Regions from separate parts of the Homo sapiens genome. Here region 1 is linked to region 2. The links are contacts of gene promoters, found by promoter capture Hi-C in human tissues and cell types (Jung and others, 2019). All regions are on one chromosome and are shown on one strand. The core of a region is centred on a gene start or on the middle of the fragment in contact, and the rest is flanking DNA. Distances in the headings are between cores, read along the strand shown.

Region 1 (3,786 bases), core at 401-2,900, 140 kb before region 2:
GCACTATTAACAGGCACTGTCACCTGGTTTAAGGTCAGTTCGACTCCAAGCTAAATTCTCAGTGTTCCCTATAGTTTAGGCTTTGTGGGACTAAAGGCAGTGCACGAATCATGCTCTAGAGCAGTGTTTCTCAAATGACCTGTATTGAAAGACAAGGTTTGCTTGTTTGTTTCCAATCCATTGCAGAATCATACTTTTGTAAAATGTAATAAAAATAAAATAAATTACTAAAAAGGGGTGGAGGGAAGCACATGAAACACAAGCCCAGTTTTAAAAATTAGGTTCAATAGATATAAAATTATGGTGCCAAATTTCTATAAAAGTTTCTAAATGTTTACTCTTGCTTGATTTGCATATATCCTTACAGACCTGCAAGGACTATCTAAGAATTGGCACTGGTCCGGGGACCATACTTTGAGTAGCATGGATCTAAAGATCATTAAACATGCATTTCACTATTGAAAACATAGGCTCTTGAAATGGAATAATATGATTATTTTAATCAGTGAGTAAACTGACACCTTGTTCTTTTATTAATAAGAGAAGAATAACTCTGATAAGTCAAAGTAATATATGCAGTATGAAAATTTAATGATATTTTCCCCAGTAGATTAAATTTCTAATTATGTGGTATTTAGGCTAATGTTAAAATCTGTATTTTCCTTAGTACACAGGCCATCAACAAGTGGAGGTGTCTGCTCAGGAAATACAACTTATTTCTGTCAAAAATATATTGTGAATAATACAATGTATATGCAGTGTATAATACTCTCCAAAGAAGGACAAAAATCAGGAAAACTACAATAGGTATGGATTTGCCACTTCAGAAAGCCACTGCCTTACCTGGATATGGCTCTCTCAAGTTTACAAGACTGTGGCATTAAACCATACTGTGTCTGAATACCTTTCCCATCCCCATCTACCAAGGAAAATTCTGCTGATCTTACAAGACCCAGATCAAGAGTTACCTCTTGAGTGCATTCTCAACATTCATTCATCCATTCATTCGTCATTCACACTCATCCATCCAACAAAAGTGTATTGCCTACCCTACAATATGCCAAGCTGGAGATGGCACATGGTGGTGTAGGTGCTACAGATACAACATTGAACAAACCATGGTTCCTACCTTTTTAGAGTTTGTGTTCTAATGGTGAGAAAGGAGAGAAAAACAAATTAAATATATTCATAATATTGTGTTTGGTAAGTGAAAACTGTTATAAAGCAAAGTAAAACACGGACTCAACTTGCTATCTTCATCTAAACCACAGAACACAGAAAGTACTTTGACAGACTATATTCTCAATTTTCCCAAGGATGATGCACAGCTATTACCATTCTCGATACATACGAGAGAAGTTAATTCATTGCATACAATGGATGCCTTAGGGAATGACATCTTAATTTGCAGACTGAGAGAGGGTGAAATAGAGAGTAACTGAGGTGCTATTTTAGATAATGTACTCTGAGTGGCCTCTGTAAGAATTGTACAAGGGAGCAGAGATCTTTTTTTAAAAATCCTTGAGCATGAGCCATGTGGATAACTAAGGGAAAAACACTTCAGGCAAGAAAACGAAATTCAAATTCCCCAAAACATAGAGAACTTGTTGAGTCTGAGGAACAGCTGGGGGAGGCCTATGTAACTGGAATGGAATGAGTGAAGTGCCAAGTACTGGGAGAAAAGGACAGCAGGTCAGGGTTGTCAGTAGAGGGTGCTCCTACCAAGCCTTATTAGACTGTCACTTTGCAGTTCAATTATAGCATAATCATACTATTTTTCTTCAGTTAGCAATAGGTTGTTTGAAGGCAGAATCTGTGTGACGGTCATTTTGTATTTCGACATCCAGCACTGCAACACGTTAAGGCTTAAATGTGTGACTGAACAAGTGAATGGATAGATGAATGAATTAATATATTCATACAGGGCTTTCACAAACAATATTCATTAATTATCTGCCATCCTTCCAGGAGGCGGATCTAGTCTTACTGCATCTAATTTACATATAAAAAATCTAGGATGTTCATCAACTTGCCTGCAGGTACAGAATTGCTAAGATCTAGGAAAAAGGACCTTCCAAATTCAGATGTTTGACTCTTAGTTTAATGCCCTTCGTATATATTGAGCTTCCAATTATGGTTAATAGAATGGACAGAAGTAAGTTTTTTAAAAAATCACTGTATATCACAATACTTTCTGAAAATGGTAGATGCAAATGTAAAAGTTTACATTGTTTTTAGAGTGGGGACTGGCTGCCCTCTCCTGGAAATATGAAAAAATCCCATGAAGCAAAACCCATTTCTCTAGTCAATCTAAGACATTCCTCCACCCACCCACTCACCTTACCCCTCTTCCCCATCTCTCTGTTTCCTTTCTTTCCTAAACTTTTCTTTCATGTTTGTCAACCTAGATTAATGACAGGGGGTTCTTTTTTTTTTTGGCTGTAAGATTTATTTTTAAAACCTGAACTGCATCAGATACATAATACCCATTTGTTTGCAAGTTGTTGCTTTAAAATTTATTATAATCCATAGCTATCCCAAGCTTTGAGCTTCAGTTCACATTCCCTTTATATCCTCATTTTCTCCAAAATCCAGACAGCTGCCTGGGGTCCCAGCTATTACAGTCAAAACTATCGGTGATTACAGAGATGAAGAAACGTGGTTTCTCTTATTAGCTCAGTACACTTATTCTTACAACTCAAAGTGTGTTCCACAGTCCAGCAACATCAGCATAACCAGTATTAAAAATTCTGAAGCTCAGGCCCCATTGTGCTGGTAATATTTACCAGACAATTACATGCACATTCTCATTTGAGGAGCTCTGCTCCAAGGATGCTATTGAGGCATTGGTGCTACACTGAGCTGGGGTTCGAAGTCTCCTTTGTTTTCAACCATGTGGGTGGAGGTTAGAGAAAGATTTGTTGAACACACAACACTGTAGCCACAATCTCTAATACAGTTCATGGTATTTCTTTAAAAATACAATTCCATTCATTCATTATTAACTGATGCCATTTCTTATGTTCATCATAATCACTTTATACATACGTACCGAGTTTAAAGACAAGGTCTTAAAGTGGATATGTTCACGAACATGTGCGTGTAATGATAAATACCAAGGGAACATGGCTAAGAAATGGCATCAACTGATAAAGAATAAATGAATGAATAACAAAATTTTATTTTTAAAGTAACAGGGTGGACTGTGTTAGAGACTGTGGGTACACTGCTATGTGTTCACCAAAACCTATTCCCTCTCCACCCTGTCTGTGATCATGTGACTGTGTTCTGGCCAATGGGATGGTGCTTGACTGATTACAGGCTGGCCTAGAAAAAAACTTCCCATGCAAGATCCTTTCTCCAGCCTCTGGCTGGAAGTAAGGATTCCAAAGCCCTAGGGCAAGTGTTAACAAACTGGTTTTGCACTGCCTGTGAGCTAATCATGTTTTTTACATTTTTATGGTTGAAGAAAAATTAAAAAGAAGACTATTTCATGAAAAACCTATCAAATTCCAATCTCAGCATTAAAGATAAACTTTTATTGGAATACAGCCACACTCATTCATTTACATATTGTATACAGCTGCTTTCACACTACAAAGGCAAAGCTGAGTAGTTTTGACACAGACCAGAAAGTCCACAAAGCCTAAAATATTTCCCATCTGGCCATTAACAGAAACAGTTTGCTGATCTCTGCCCTAAAGTCTGGCTGAACTACAAGATGGGAGGAGCATGGATCCCCAAGTCACTACAAGGAAGGCTGTCCACCAAATATCCTCATTGGAC
Region 2 (3,565 bases), core at 329-2,828:
GGCCTCCCCCGGATGAACAGAGGATGCTGGAAGCGCTTCGGCTACTGGCTGGCCCGGCCAGGACAGAAGGCAGGTCCCAGGCCATGCTCTTCTTGAGGCCGCCGCGACCCAGGGGAACCTCATAGTCAAAGTGAAAGCTGCCGGATGGTGACTTCTCCTGCGGGGTGCTGGGTGTGGAGAAGGACGAGCAAAGAGGTCCAGGAGGCGGTAGCCTGGTGGCCCTGGGGGGCGGACCCCGGGAAGAGGACGCCAAGCGAGGGCCGAGACTCTCGGCTGGGAGTGATGGGGAGTAGAGGCGGCCCGCCGTGGCTCCCCGCGCACTGCCCTCCGCGCCCGCCTCGTCGCTCCCGCAGCCGCCGATCAGGGCCGGGTCCAGGCTGCGGGTCTGGCGCAGCTTCCTCTTGGAGAAGCCCTTGGCCGAGGCCGCGCTACTTGAAGCGGGCGAGGAACAGGAGAAGACGCTGTGGAGCAGGCTCTGCGCGGACATCTCGGCGGGGCTGCACCTGAGGACCACCTCCTCCTCCCTCCCTGGACGCTGGTGGCTTTGGGTCGGGAACCGAAAGGGACTCAGGCAAAGGTGCCAGGCGGGGCTGGCCCGGGGTTTGCCCAGGGCAGTGGAGAGCAAAGCCCAGCTCACGCGCCGCCGGTGCGCTCCAAGTGCCCCGGCGGCGGCAGGAGCAGCAGATCCATCACCAGCCTTCTAGGAAAATGGGTCTGGGGACCTCCTGCAGCCGCTAGAACCTTCCTCCGGAGCCCAAGACGCGAAGAGGGTCAGGAAGAGGAGGAGGAAGGTCAGGCGCTCGCTGGGTTCCCAGCTCCAGCCTGCCAGCGCCACTCCCCCTTCCTAGCTGAGGCGGGAGACGCAGCGCTCCTGCTCGCTGGCTCTGGATGGCCTCTAAGACTCCAGCAAGCTCCTCCTTGCGGCCCGAGGACAGTCCCGAGGGCCAGGGAGAAGGCTGCCTGGGCGTGCGCCCAGGGCGCGTCCACCGCGCTCCCGGCGCCGCGAGAACTTCCTCCCGCTCCTGAGCCGGGCGCCTGAGCTGCGCCTCCCTGCACTCTCTCCTTGCCCCGGCGCCCGAGGTTGCGCGCCTGGCCTCCGCTGGGCTGCTGCGCCCACTCTTCCGACTGCAGAGGCTCAAGGGTTGTTCCAAGCTCAAGGTTCCCGCGGGGTCTCTGTCTTGCTGCAGTGTGGGGACACCGAGCGTGCTGCGCCCGGGACCTCCAAAGACTGCGTGCCCACGGTGGGATGGAATTCCCGGCGGCGCTCAGCGCTCTCCGTGGAGGAGGGAGCTCAGGAGACAGCCCCAAGGCCGGGTGTGTGTGTTCCGCCGGAGAGGAACACGCTATTCGCAGCCCAGCCTTGGGCCCAGGGCAGACGCGGAGATGACCCCGTACGCTCGCTCTAGAGGCAGCGGGAAGGGGGCGGCCAGGACGTGTAGAGCTGGAGGAATGCCGGGGCTGGAGCTGGGGCGGAGCCAGGAGCAGGAGAAAGCAGAACGTGAAGAGTTTTCCAGGCGCCAAACCTGCAAGCGGCGAGGAGAGAAGGCAGCTCGCCACTGATACCGGGTCTCCTGGGGAGAAAGTCGTGAGGACGGAAGTGCGGACCTTCTCCCCCGTCTCCCCACCCCCAGATCAAGGGTCGCGCCAGCTCCACTCACGTTTCTGGAAAGGAAGGGAAGTGTCAGATTGCACCCCACCCACTGGTGTCAGATGGGCAGCCGGGGACGATTGCTCTGAAGTTGGAGTTAAATCTCCTGCCTTTTCTCCCCGCGCCCCCCCACCCCGCCCTGTCCCGGCTGTTTTTGTTTTTAAAAAGGAAGGATAGATAGGAAACTGTCTAAAAGCAGTGGCTGCCGATGAATGAGCTGGAGATGGAGACCTACTAAGAAAGTGGAGGGGGAGGAGCCTTTGCCGTGGAAGGGGTCCTGAGCACGTGCGGAAACGTGCTCTAGGAGGAGGGGTGAGTGAGGCCGGGTAGGGGGCAGGCGCCGGGCGCAGCTTCAGCCCAGAGGCTGCAGAGATTGGCGCTCACAAAGCGATCTGTCTCCGCGTCCCGCTCTGGGACGCCTCGGGTCTCAGCGCGGTGGCCACAGTCCTGGGAAGCTGGAGAACGCTGGGGAAATCAATCTTCCCGGCAAGGAGATGAGTCTGAAAGCAGCTTCTCCCGCTGTCGGACCCCTGGAATCTATAAAGCGCAAAGCCTCGCCCTCTTGGAGGGCTTTTTGATGTAACAGTTAAGCTTTGCAATGCAACTTACAACCATCTCAGCAGGGAGCAGACAGAATGTTGGAAATGTCTACTTTGTGTTTGTGTCCTCTTTTATCACTTAGGGATGAAGATAATTTTATATAAATGTAAAGGTGACTCTACCATTTCTTTTATTTTGGAGAAAAAATACAATGAAATTATAAATACAGATGTTGGACACGAACATTCCTCTTGCATATCTACCAGAATTGTCCAAGTTTGATTCTGGAAGACTTCCTTTATTCCCTATGACATATTCAGGGGAAAAGTTAATTTACTTAGACTCTTTGAAAAGCGTGTTTGGTGTTCCTAGGTGTTCAGCTATTTTGGAGGAGGTACGTCATGAAATCTAATTAGGAGAATTCGTTGTCTCCACAAAGGGCGTCGGGCTCCCAGGTCTTGGCTGTACTCGTTTTTTGTAAACGCAGCCGAACAGACTGCACCCTTAGAGATTTTTTTTCCGGTAGCTTTAATGAGCTATCTGCTGTCTGAAGACAGAGTTCGATTCTAGTTTCCCATCCCCCATCGCTGTCCATCTCTTCTCACCCTGAGCTTCTTAAGTATTTTCAGCGGCTGTCAATCAGGTGTGCTGCTGACAGGCACAGTGTTTAAAAAGAGCTCTTGCTCCCCTGCCTAACTACACCCAGGCCAAGTTACATTTGGGGGCTTGTTGGCATTGGCTTTCTTCCCTCCTCATACAAGTCACATTAGAAGTAAAAGTGTGTGGGTCTTGTCTGCCCTTTCTTTAGTAACAAAACTGTAATTTATCACTGGTAATGGAAACACTTAATGTCTCTACCACTGGGATACGAATGCATGGTTATGCCTCATTGCATGGTTATGCCTCAGTGGAGTTTGGCATTCGGGGTAGATGGTTAACAGAGTCACTTCACAGAATCACTTATAACTCAAGGGGGGTGAGCAACTTGATGATTGTATTTGATGATTTATATATTTCTCTAACCCCATATGATAACCATGGGGTAGCAAATGAACCCCTGCCATGACTGTATAGGCTAGTATGAATGCCCCCAGGCACAAGGGCATACATTCTTGCTCATGGGTGTTGGAGAGCCAACCAGCAGAGGGATTCTTCTATTAGCACTCCTAGGGCTTGGAACACACACATGCCAGTTAATTCATCATCTAGTTTCCAAGTGTTCCTGACCCTCCAGGAAACTGGAAACTTGTGTCATTGTTGGGAACAGTGAATAAATTGTTTTAAATATTAATCAAATTAGACTGGGGCTCCTTTTAAAAACTCAGTGTAAGTATGTGTGCTTTTAATACCTGGGGCAGGGGATGTTGATGTTCTTCT

What was found. Contacts are between HindIII fragments. The study calls those that stand out against the background at their distance.
Region 1: a fragment that was not itself captured here is called in contact with the fragment with the promoter of ARHGAP6 in region 2 in 1 of the 25 tissues and cell types used here (pancreas).

The regions. Positions count from the first base shown.
Region 1 is chrX:11,529,172-11,532,957 of GRCh38, forward strand. All of the region lies in intron 1 of ARHGAP6 (Rho GTPase activating protein 6), which reads right to left. Among named protein-coding and RNA genes, the nearest start is that of ARHGAP6, 130 kb to the right of the region's middle. The HindIII fragment of the contact is 5,607 bases long and covers 1-3,786 here.
Region 2 is chrX:11,664,342-11,667,906 of GRCh38, forward strand. ARHGAP6 (Rho GTPase activating protein 6) reads right to left here and starts at 1,579. Exons shown (of 13, transcript NM_013427.3): 1 at 1-1,579. The coding sequence starts at 487. The HindIII fragment of the contact is 7,841 bases long and covers 1-3,303 here.